Regions from separate parts of the Homo sapiens genome. Here regions 1, 3 and 4 are each linked to region 2. Evidence: promoter capture Hi-C in 16 types of primary human blood cells and fetal thymus (Javierre and others, 2016). All regions are on one chromosome and are shown on one strand. Each heading gives the region's core, a stretch centred on a gene start or on the middle of the fragment in contact. The rest is flanking DNA. Distances are from core to core; before and after follow the strand shown. Region 1 overlaps MEGF6 (multiple EGF like domains 6). Region 2 holds the start of CCDC27 (coiled-coil domain containing 27). Region 3 overlaps MEGF6 (multiple EGF like domains 6). Region 4 holds the start of LOC105378608 (a long non-coding RNA gene).

Region 1 (2,817 bases), core at 318-2,817, 250 kb after region 2:
TGGGGACAGCCCTTTGAGCCCATTCAGTTTTACTCCTGCCTGCTGGCCCTGGGCAGGGGGCTCTGTGCAGAGCCATTCATTCATCCATTTGTTAATTCCTTTGATAAACATCCCCTGACTGTCCACTCTATGCCACGCACTGTTCCAGGCAGTAAGGATTCCCTGGGAACAAGCAAGTTAAAGTGTTTGTCCTTCCTAAATATCAGTCTTCACGGTCCAGCAACAAGCAAGCCAGCAAATAACTAAGACAGTGAGGGGTGTCTGCTGAAGGGCAGCCGGCAGGTGGGGTTCCTCTAGCTCAGATGGCCAGGGACCCGTCATAACTGTCAGTGAGGCTCTGCCTGTTTGAAAGAGCTGGTTCAGAAGGAGGAGACTCCTCTCTCTGCTGGTGTTCAGAGAGAGGAGTCAGTGATCAATTAGTGATGTCTGCCATGAGCATGGGCAGGGGTGATGTGGTACAAGTGCCATCATTTTATCTCTAGGCAACTGCTTCTAAACCCAAGCCTCCAACCCTAGGAAGGGGTCTCAGAGTGTCGTGCTGGCTGGTGACCCTGACGCTTCCCTGTCATTCTTTGTAGCTTGTCCTCCGGACACCTTTGGGAAGAACTGCAGCTTCTCCTGCAGCTGTCAGAATGGTGGGACCTGCGACTCTGTCACGGGGGCCTGCCGCTGCCCCCCGGGTGTCAGTGGAACTAACTGTGAGGATGGTGCGTGCAGCCTCTTCTGGTGCTTCTGGAATTACCCCTGGGCTGTAAGGGAAGTGGGAGACACCACCCCTCCACGTCCTCCTTGTCTCCTTCCTCCCACTGGAGCAGGGAAACTGCTACCAAACTTTTCCTAGACTCCCTTTCCTTCCTGCCTCCCTGTCTCCAGAGCTTTAGGCTGTGCTTGAGAGAGAATGAGGCCCTTGAATGAGAGGGGTATTGCTTTTTCACTGTTGCTAATTTTCCCAGGGCCTAACTGTAGCAGACGATAAGACTACAGAGCAGCACTTTTGGAATGGGTTCCCTTGAGAGGCAGTGAGGTCCCTGTTCCTGGAAGCATTCAAGTAGAGCTGGTGATGGCTGGGTGAGGTTTGCAGAAGGGATTACTTGGGGGCCAGTGGCTGCAAGGGATGATGTTGGCTCCCTTATTAACTCTGAAGTTTCAGCCTTTCTGGAGGAATTAGTCCAGAAAATGTTTCCCAGGTGGCTAAAGCTTCATCTTTAAGTCTTCAGACTTCATCATTTCTGCCTCTTTCGATGGAGAGTGCAGCTAACGTATCATAAACTTTCTGCCTTTGTGAGAGGAAGACAGCCAACCCTAGAACCTGTCCCCCAGGTGGCCCCGTGAGCTTTCCTGGCCGTATGTGCTGGGCTCTGCAGGGCTGGTTGCCTGGTGGTGGTGGGGACCCCAGGCAGCCACACAGGGCTTCCTACCTCTTCCCTGTCAGTGTGCCTCCCTTCCCCACTTTGTCTGCCCTTTCTATTCTACAGGGTGCTGGGGAACCCCCGTATTCATTCCTGGGTGCTGCACCCCTGGGATCGTGCTGTACCCTCCAGGCTGCCTGCAGCGTTGAGGGGTCACCTCCCCTTCTCCAGGCCTCCTCTTTCTGTCTCGGCTTCCGCCTGCCTCTCAGATGAGGATGTTTGTCTTTGGATTCAGGGCCAGCCTGGATAATGTAGGGCTACTATGGCAAGCACTGTTGCAAGAAATGCAACTGTGCCTAGTCTCCAGGTCCTGGGGACTAGGACGTGTATGTAGTTGTGGGGGTACCTTCAGCTGACTACCGCCTTCAGTAGGAGGAAGGACGTGGGGCAGGACCCAGCCAGAGAGAATTGTTTGGGGAAGAAAGGCGAGGACCTTTCTAGCTCTGGGGCCACCTGCGGCTTGGGCCTGGGACCTTGTCTACTGGGGCCACGTGTCCTTCCCGCTTTGAGGCTCTGAGATCAAGCTTAGTGACCACCAGGGGACAGAAGTCAGGCGGCTCCTGATGGGGGCCAGACTTTGGGGAGAGTGGGGCGTGAGCTTTGTGCATCTCTCCAGTGTGGGCCGAGGAATGTGCTCTTCCACCCGCCCTTGCCACAAACCCTGGGGGCAGGGGATGTAGGGGACAGACCAGCCAGGGCAGACGGCCACATCCGGAAGGCTCACCTAGTGCCCTGGCGGGGGCTGCTCCCAGCTCCTGTGCTGGGCCCTGGGCCCCCGCGCATCCTACCACATGGGGGGACCACATGTGGTAGGCTGGCTGCCACCAAGGTTCACATGGAGCCCCGCTGCCCCCAGGCTGCCCCAAGGGCTACTATGGCAAGCACTGTCGCAAGAAATGCAACTGTGCCAACCGGGGCCGGTGCCACCGCCTCTACGGGGCCTGCCTCTGCGACCCAGGGCTCTACGGCCGCTTCTGCCACCTCAGTGAGTCTCACTGCCCCTTCCAGTGTCCATGGTGGTGGCAGCGGGTGGAAGGGATGGTCCATGTCCTGTTACCTGTAGTCTGGGTTAGGATGAGGCTATCGGGGCCCAGCCAGGTCACCCACTGGGATGTAGGTCTGGGGTCCGCCATGAGTCTGTGGACTCCAAGCCACATCCTCTCGACTGTGACTGTGCTGGCATCCAGGGCGTCTGGGTGGATGGTCCCCAACCTTGTGCCTCCCAGCCTTGATGGGTGGTAGGGCTGCAGATGAGGGCAGGGCCAGGCCTTTTGCAGAAGCCTCCGGGGGATGAGGCCTATCTTGGCTTTTGGAGATTCCTGGCAGCAAGGCCAAGCTCTGAGTCCCTGGTGGGGTCACCCATCCCTGGGGTTCAGACACTCAGGGAAGGGGCGGTGGGCTGCAGGGG
Region 2 (2,700 bases), core at 151-2,650:
CCCTGCTTCTGCCTGACTGTCGGCTGAGATTCACAGACAGGCCCCCCGACCCCACCCACACATGCTGCTGGTCACAGGCACTAAGCCACTCTCCCACTGGGGTTGAAAGGGCCTGCGTGTGTGCAGGCTGCAGCAGTGTGTCCCCTCTGTCCCCTCTCCAGCACACTGGATGCTCAGCAAGAGCCACGCAGACCCACTTTGGAAACCATAGTCCAGCCGGGCATGGTGGCTCATGCCTGTAATCCCAGCACTTTGGGAGGCCAAGGCGGGCAGATCACATGAGGTTGGGAGTTTGAGACCAGCCTGACCAACATGGAGAAACCCCATCTCTATTAAAAATACAAACAAACAAACAAATAAAATTAGCCGGGCAAGGTGGCACATTGTAATCCCAGCTACTCTGGAGGCTGAGGCTGGAGAATCACTTGAACCCAGGAGGTGGAGGTTGCGGTGAGCCAAGATCGCGCCATTGCACTCCAGCCCGGGTGACAAGAGTGAAACTCCGTCTCAAAAAAAAAAAAAAAAAAAAGAAAAAGAAAAAAAGAAACCATAGTCCACTAGGTCCAGGCAATGCATTCACCCAGGAAGCTGCCAGGAGCCGGGGTGACCATCTCGGGCTCCCCCAGTACACGGTGGCACAGCGTACCTGACTGGCTGAGGTCCCCTTTCACATTTTCTCCCCTTCACTCTCCTTTTCAAGATGCACCTTGGGAGTCTTGGGGCAAACTGTACATCTTCTCCCCTTGGCCAACCAGAGACACCGGGAGCCAAGGTCTGCAAGAGGGGAGGACCAACCCAAAGCAGCTAACCCAGAAGAAGCCGGTGGCATGTGGGGACTAAGGCACCAGGCCCTTCAGAAAGGGAGAGGACCGCAGGGCTCTTTCCACCCCTAGCGCTCAATTCGTTGCCTGCCTGGAATCCCCCTTTGGTAACCCATCACCAGAAGGCCTGTGGAATGCTTTGTGGGCTGACAGCTCTATGGGCCTTTGGGGAGGAGAAGAAACAGGTCACCTCAAGGCTCGTGGCAGCCCTCCTCCCGGGACCCCATACCGTCTTCCTGTAGTAGCGGCTGATGGTCTGGACCGACTTGCTGAGCGTGCGTGGCTTTTGGTGCGGTTTCCATTCTGGGCACCGGGCGTCCCGGCTGGCCATGCTCTGGAGGAGCACCAGGGCCCTGGCCATCGAGCTGGACATCGAACTGTGCCTCTGAGATGGGCTGGCCTCCTTAGGTAACATGAGGCGTGGGATGCAAAGACCAAGTGAGCTTTGTTGCCTGAATGTGGACCTGAATGAGGACAGGCCCGGCTTTTCCCGTGGATCTCTCTTCAGCCTGGCTTGGGGTGTGGAGGGGAAGATGGCCTCGAACATGAACCTGCTGGCTGGTGCAGTGGGAGGAGATCAGCTTCCAGAGCTCCAGGTCCTGTGGGCTCCTGGGAGCAGTGGTGGCATCACAGATGTCTCCATAGAAACCGTTATTGAGCAAAAGGGGCCCGCGGCTGGATGCGCTGGAGGCCAGTGCTGTGACACCAGGTTTTTGAGAAGAGCAAAGCTCAATATTGAAGGTTGCCTTCTGGGCTGGGTGTGGTGGCTCACACCTGTAATCCCAGCACTTTGGGATGCCCAGGTGGGAGGCATGCTTGAGCCCAGGAGTTAAACATTTTAATTAGCCAGGCATGGTGGCGTGCACCTGTAGTCCCAGCTCCTCAGGAGGCTGAGATGAGAGGATCACCTGAGCCTGGGGAGGTCGAGGTTGCAGTGAGCTGTGTTCACGTCACTGCACTCCAGCCTGGACTACAGAGTGAGACCCTATCTCCAAAAGAAAAAAGAAAAAAAGAAAAAAAAAAAGAAAGAAAAGAAAAAAAGAAAAGTCAGCTCCCAAGGACACAGGAGTCCAGCTCAAATGTCTCCATGTGCTGGCTTGAAGACAGTAATTGTATTAGAAAAGGTTAGGCTGGGTGCGGTGGCTCATGCCTGTAATCCCAGCACTTTGGGAGGCCGAGGTGGGCGGATCACGAGGTCAGGAGATCGAGACCATCCTGGCTAACACAGTGAAATCCCGTCTCTACTAAAAGTACAAAAAATGAGCCGGGCGTGGTGGCGGGCGCCTGTAGTCCCAGCTACTTGGGAGGCTGAGGCAGGAGAATGGCGTGAACCCAGGAGGCGGAGCTTGCAGTGAGCAGAGATCGCACCAGAGCACTCCAGCCTGGGCAACAGAGTGAGACTCCATCTCAAAAAAAAAAGGTTTAGGGGGTGGGCTCTGGGATTAGAAACATTTGGCCAAGAAATACCTAGAAGAGTAGATAAGAGTAGCCTGACTCCCTGGGAATGATTTTCCAGGCTTCAAATGCCTACCTCAAGACATCTTTTAAGGAGAGAAAGACAAAACCCCTACCTTCAGAAGCCTTGATTAGGGTCTGAATGGGAAGAAAGGCTTCTCTGCTTGCTGACTGAAGGAAATTTGAAGGGGGCCTGCCCCATCCACACCTGTGGGTATTTCTCTTCAGGTGGAGATGAGAGACTGAGAAAAGAAACAAGACGCAGAGACAAAGTATAGAGAAAGAACAGTCAGCCCAGGGGACCGGCACACTCAGCATGCAAGGACCTGCATCGGCGCTGGTCTCTGAGTTCCCTCAGTATTTATGGATCACTGTTTTTACTACCTTGGTGAGGGGAGTGTGGCAGGGCAACAGGGTGATGGTG
Region 3 (2,700 bases), core at 27-2,526, 230 kb after region 2:
TTGGCTGGTCCCCAGGCTGTGGAAGTCCAGGCAGCGCAGATGCGGGGAGAGGCCTCAGGACCAGGCTGCTCTCGACCCCTTCCTGCTCTCCTACTCCCCTCTACCGCCTTTGAGTGGGGCATCAGCTAAGTCTGGAACCTGAGGACACGTGGTTCTAAACCAAGCTGGCCCTTGGGCAGGGAGGGTCTGACGGGGTCTGGGCTGCTCTGGGATGGCGGGTGGCACTTCATGGGGGAGGGTGCCGGCACAGCGAAGGCTTCTGTCCTGGGATATGGTGGCCTTCTGGGTCCTTGCACGGGGAGCCTGTGGGTGTGGGGGGCCCAGGCTGACCCCAGCTGCATTGGTTTCCCAGGGCTGCTGGAACAAACACCGCAAACGGGGTGGCTACAAACTATAGAAGTTTCTTCTGTCGCCATCTGGAGGCCAGGATTCTGAACCCAAGGTGTCCGCGGGGCCACGCTCCCTATGAACCCATAGAGAGGACCTTCCTGGCCTCTTCCTTCTGGCCGTCCTTAGCCCGTAGCCTCGTCACCACAATCTGCCTGGTCTCCACATGGCCCTCTCTGTGTGTCTCTTGTTGGGATAGGCGCATTGGATTTAGGGCTCACCCTCATCCGGAACAATCTCATCTCGAGCCTGAACTTAGGACAGCTGCCAAGACCCTGTTTCCAGACAAGGCCTCACTGGAAGGCTCCAGATGGCCATGAACTGCGGGGACACTCTTGAAGCCAGCACGCCCTCCCCTTTCTCAGGCTTCCCCCCACAGCCTGGGCATGGCCGTCTCAAAAGCTGTCAGTTTCTCTTTTTGGGCTTGTGGGTCCTGGTGGAGCGGTTGACACCGCCCAGGAAGCACTTTGTAGATTTGGACTTAAGAAAACCGCGTGCGCTCCCGGTTCAGTCTTGAAAGGCGCTAGAGGCCCAGCCTGTCCTTGGAGCCCTCTGCTACTCCCCACCTTCTGGCCGGCCCTCGAGGCGGTGGCTCTTCCTTCTCGAGCAGGTGTCCAAGGTGGAAGCACAGACCCTGTCTCTTCTGCTGCGTCTCCGGCAGATGTGGGTGAGGGGCTCATGGGTGGTGCCCTCGAGGCACGGGAGGGACCTGGGTCTGGGCCCCCGGCACCTGGGGGGCTGTGTTGGCAAAGCAGGAGGGCACAGGTGCCCAGCTGCTGATCCTTCCCCATTCCTGCTCAGATGTGGACGAATGCCGAACCCACAACGGTGGCTGCCAGCACCGGTGCGTGAACACCCCAGGCTCCTACCTCTGTGAGTGCAAGCCCGGCTTCCGGCTCCACACTGACAGCAGGACCTGCCTGGGTGAGTGTCGCCTGGAGACCCTGCCTGGGCTCCTGGCTTCAGCCATCCCTACCCTCTGGGGTGTGCCCAGGCCTGGCCTGAGAGGGTGGCTGTGGACATGGAGAGGCAGAGGCCGCTCTGGCAGTGGCTCCTTCCTGCGGAGCATGGCTCTATGGAATCCTGCCCGCACCTTGCCCCAGGCTCAGGCCGGTAAAAGGACTGAATGCCAAGTTGCCAGGTCCCCAGGACCCTGGCTGCAGACCCTCTGCAGCCACACTAAGCCCCGCTGTGATGCTGAGGCCCCTCCCAGTGGACAGGGGAGTGAGCCCGTGGGTGGAGATCCTATTAAAGATTCTCTACAACAGAAGCTGCCGTGGTTATCAGCAGGGACCTGGCCTGGTTGTGATGTCCCCTACATTTGATTTGAGGGAGACCTGGGTCACGTGCTACGTGGTGGGGGACGCTGGCCGAGGAGGCCTGGTCAGGGCAGGGGCTGCGTGAGGACACCCTTCGCCCGCAGAGCCAGGCTTTGTGGGCCCAGGTGATCCCTGCCCAGCTTGGGGAGCCTGGAGGGTGTGGGCTGTGGCAGGTAGGGTAGGGGTGACGAAGAAGCGGGACCCTGTCCCTCAGCTTCCTCTGCGGGGTCTCTTGGCTATTGGAATGGGCTGGAGGAGGTGTCGCGGACACGGACTGTGGCCGCAGGGAGGGAGGGTTAGAGGGAAGCAGGGGAGGTGCCAGGCCTCTAGGAACCGGCACAGGGCTGAGCAGGGGGCTGGAGCCCAGGAATCTGGGGTGAAGAGTAAGTAGCCAGTCAGCCACCCTCACCCTTCGGCACCCCTGCTCCTGGCTGGCTCTGGGCACAGGCGCCCCAAGCAAGGACGGGACTGACCCTCTTGCTGGTCTCTGTCTGGGAGGCATGGGGGGTCATTCTCTGGGTGATGGGCGTCAGGACGCCCCTTCTTCCTGCCTTGGAGGCCCGGAGCAGGGCCCAAGCCGGCTCTGAGCAGCCTCCCTCCCGGTCCTGCCTGTGATGTGGCAGAGCAGCTCGCCAGCCCTGGGGCCCCCCCCCCGGCACACACTCACATGTCCCGGCCACCATGGGGATCCAGGCAGCCGCTCTGTAAAGTTTCCCTGGGTCTGAAAGTAGAAACAGATGCAGGAATGTTGTGATGTGCTTCCGGACAACGGAGACGGGGGTGCGGCCCCAGCCCGCTGCCCTGCGGGGCTTCTGGGAGCCTGGGGCACTTTAGCCTTGCACCCCCTGGTCCCCTCAGGCCCCCTGGAAGAGGCAGCTCTTGGGGGGCACGTCCTTTTCTCGACCCTCCTCTCAGGCAGGGTATTCCTTGTAGAAGGGCAGCCCAGGTGTCAGCCCAGTGGGGCCTCTCCTGGCCTCTAATCCCTTCTCCTGGC
Region 4 (2,700 bases), core at 131-2,630, 200 kb after region 2:
CACACACCGTGGTTTGAGTCCCTGTTTCTATTTATCTTGGGCAGGTGCTTAGGGGTGGGACTGCTGGGTCTGTGGCGCCTCTGGGTATGTCTTGTGTCGGGAGCCGTTACTTTCTGCTGATAGAAAATTCCCGGGATGGGGAGGGCTGGGGGCATGGAGCCTTCCCCTCACCACCCTTCAGGCTGGACTCACCAGGTGGCATCCACGATCACTTCAGCTCTGGGGAGAGCGGGGACCCCTGGGTTGGGGCTGGCGAGAAGTGGTGAGGGCAGCCTTTGTGAGTCTCCAGGTGAAGACTCAGAGCCTAGCCTGGTTCTGACCTTCGACCGCCCACCCGTGCCTGTGCTTGGATCATCCCTGGGAGAAGCTGGAGCAAGGGGCCTGTCTGGTGCCCACGTAGCTGGGCTTTGAGAGGCCCCTGCTCAAGACTCACCTTGTACGGGAAGGCTGGTCAGCCTCCGGGTGGTTCCCTGGGCTGCAGTGTTGCCTAGGTAAATTCCAGGCCATAAGTGACGCCCATAGCCCGAGCTGGAGCCCTTGTGGGGCCAGAGAGCGGGGTGAGCTGTGGGGAGCAGCGGGGCCAAGTCGCCCTGGATATCCCATGCCAGTGTCTTCGGTGAATTGATGGACCCTTCTGCATGCAGTCAACCAACGGGGTGCCTGCCGCCAGCCAGCCCAGACCCGAGCATGACCATGTGCCCCCAGAAGCCCCCAGGCAGCCCCCCATCTTCTCGCCTAGACTGGAGCCCTGAACACCCCGGTCCTGGGTTTTGGAGGAAAGAGAGGCTTCTGCTGGCTTTGGGGAGGAGCCGTCACCTGCTTCTGGAGCTGAACTTCTCCGTCCTGGGCCCTGGTCTGCCTGTGGCCATGGGGCATCAGTCTGCGTGGTGCCCAGAGTTCCAGCCCAAGCCTGAGGGGTTGGGGGAGCCCCAGCTGCCTTGTCGGGCTCTGGCTTTTCTCCTGGTGGCCGGTCCACCTGCAGCTTCTTGAGCATTCACCAAGGGTCTCCTGCGGCCCTTGTGGGCTTGTTCTGGGCTGAGCACGGGGGCCCCGAGACTAGGGGGGCCAGTCCCCACCAGAGCTTGCATGGTCTGGCTGGGGACAGATCACCCAGCGCGGAGCCACGGGGATGTTAGAGCTCAGCCCGGCCTGGGGTGGAGGCGGCGCCCGCAGGTACCCAAGGCGGGGTCCCAGCCAGCATGGAGATGCTGGGGTTGGGGGCTTTGGGGGAACAAGGGGCGATTGCAGCCTCAGTGAGGGTGACCAGGCAGCGGTGGCTGTCCTGAGTGCCAGACCCTGCAGCCCCTGTGCCAGGCCAGGCTAAGGGGCTTTTCCTGTGGGTGTGGGGGGGTCCCTGAAGGCCCCCAGCTGCAGTGGGCTCCTTTCCCCGTGGAGCCTAGCAGGGTCGGGGTGGGTGGCTGTGAGGCTGCCCCGGTGCTGGGGACCTGTGCTCACATGGCCAGCTGTGTTCCAGGCCTGGGAAGCTGGGGACCCAGCTGTGCCAGCAGCTGTGTGGAAGCTCATCTGGCGTCCAGCCCCACCTGCCTGGACACCGCCCTCCCAGCCACCTGGCCTCAAGGCCCCAGTGTCAGGACAGGTCCCAGAGCTTGGGTGCCTGCCCCACACCAGAGGAGGGGCTGCTGCTTGCCTGCCAGGGCAGTCTGTCGGGGCCAGGCAGACAGGGGACCCTGGGCACCTTGGCTCTGACCCCTGGCCTTGGCCAGCCTCCGTCTCGCCCTGTGTAACTCTCTAGGAATTCCCAAAAAATTCCCACCATGGACCTCCGCAGGGCTGTGCTGACAGCTGCATTCCAACAGTCCGGAGACGGCTGGCCTGCATTCCGCTTGGCCCGTTCTCATGGGACTGTGGCCGCCCCGAGGCCTTTGGCCCCGCCCGGGGCTCTTCCAGGGCCCGTCCTGAGGAGGTGCAGAGAGAAATGCCCCCGGCACTGGGGAGCTTTGGGCCAGCTCAGGTCCGGAAAGGCCCGCGCTGTGTTCCGTCTGTCTGGGGTGCTGGTGGGAAAGGTCGGCCTCATCTTCTGGGAACAGCACCCTGTGGGCTGGGCTGGCGTCTGGCCATCTGCGTCCTCAGCATGCTGGGGGCTCCACTGGCTCTGAGCCTGCCTCCAGGTTCCGATCCCCATGCAGCTGGGGAGGGCCTGGTCTTTGGCCTCTAGAGGCGGGGGCACAGGGGGCTGAACATTCCTGGAAGTTTGGATGGTGCAGTTCAGCAGGGGTGGGTGGGCAGAGGCGCCTGGTCCCTGCGTCACCTCAAGTTGGGTCCCACACCTTCTCAAGGCAGGTCACTTGATTCCCTTCTTCCCTCGATGCTCCTACCAGCCCAGTCACTTGTGTGGGGAGGCAGTGACGCTGCCTCTGCCCAGGACCAAGTCCCGGGGGAAGTCCTGCTGCCTGAACCAGGCAGAGGCGCACCCCGGGAGAACTGCCACATTCCCGCACCCGCAAAGACGGAGGGCGGGCTAGGGCATGGGCTCTGGGTCCTGGCAGGCTGGGCTCAGCAACTTGATGTGGTGTTCAGGGCTCCTAACCTGCTCTCCAGGCCCAACTCAGATGCCACGTGATCCCCAGAGACGCGCCAGGAAGGGAGGATGGGGCCTGGGGCTGTCCGAAGGCGGGAGGGGGAGTGGCTGTGCAGGTGACAGTGAAACTCCTCCTGGCCTCAGAGCCAAGGGAAGCCGGG

What was found. Contacts are between HindIII fragments. The CHiCAGO score rates a contact against its expected background, and 5 or more counts as called.
Region 1: a fragment that was not itself captured here is called in contact with the fragment with the promoter of CCDC27 in region 2 in 3 of 17 cell types (neutrophils, activated CD4 T cells and monocytes); the score reaches 12.9 in neutrophils.
Region 3: a fragment that was not itself captured here is called in contact with the fragment with the promoter of CCDC27 in region 2 in 1 of 17 cell types (neutrophils); the score reaches 6.2 in neutrophils.
Region 4: a contact is called between a fragment that was not itself captured here and the fragment with the promoter of CCDC27 in region 2, in 1 of 17 cell types (neutrophils). The highest score is 5.4, in neutrophils.

The regions. Positions count from the first base shown.
Region 1 is chr1:3,505,685-3,508,501 of GRCh38, reverse strand. MEGF6 (multiple EGF like domains 6) reads left to right here. Exons shown (of 37, transcript NM_001409.4): 14 at 579-707; 15 at 2,266-2,394. Among named protein-coding and RNA genes, the nearest start is that of ARHGEF16, 52 kb to the right of the region's middle. The HindIII fragment of the contact is 736 bases long and covers 1,200-1,935 here.
Region 2 is chr1:3,751,150-3,753,849 of GRCh38, reverse strand. It overlaps CCDC27 (coiled-coil domain containing 27), which reads right to left and starts at 1,400. Exons shown (of 12, transcript NM_152492.3): 1 at 1,051-1,400. The coding sequence starts at 1,368. The HindIII fragment of the contact is 5,281 bases long and covers 1-2,700 here.
Region 3 is chr1:3,522,735-3,525,434 of GRCh38, reverse strand. It overlaps MEGF6 (multiple EGF like domains 6), which reads left to right. Exons shown (of 37, transcript NM_001409.4): 5 at 1,189-1,311. Among named protein-coding and RNA genes, the nearest start is that of MIR551A, 37 kb to the left of the region's middle. RefSeq lists an enhancer at 1,737-2,276. The HindIII fragment of the contact is 4,070 bases long and covers 1-2,700 here.
Region 4 is chr1:3,547,525-3,550,224 of GRCh38, reverse strand. The region is part of intron 4 of MEGF6 (multiple EGF like domains 6); the gene reads left to right. LOC105378608 (a long non-coding RNA gene) reads right to left here and starts at 1,745. Exons shown (of 3, transcript XR_946886.3): 1 at 817-1,745; 2 at 434-487. RefSeq lists an enhancer at 2,190-2,700. The HindIII fragment of the contact is 6,080 bases long and covers 1-2,700 here.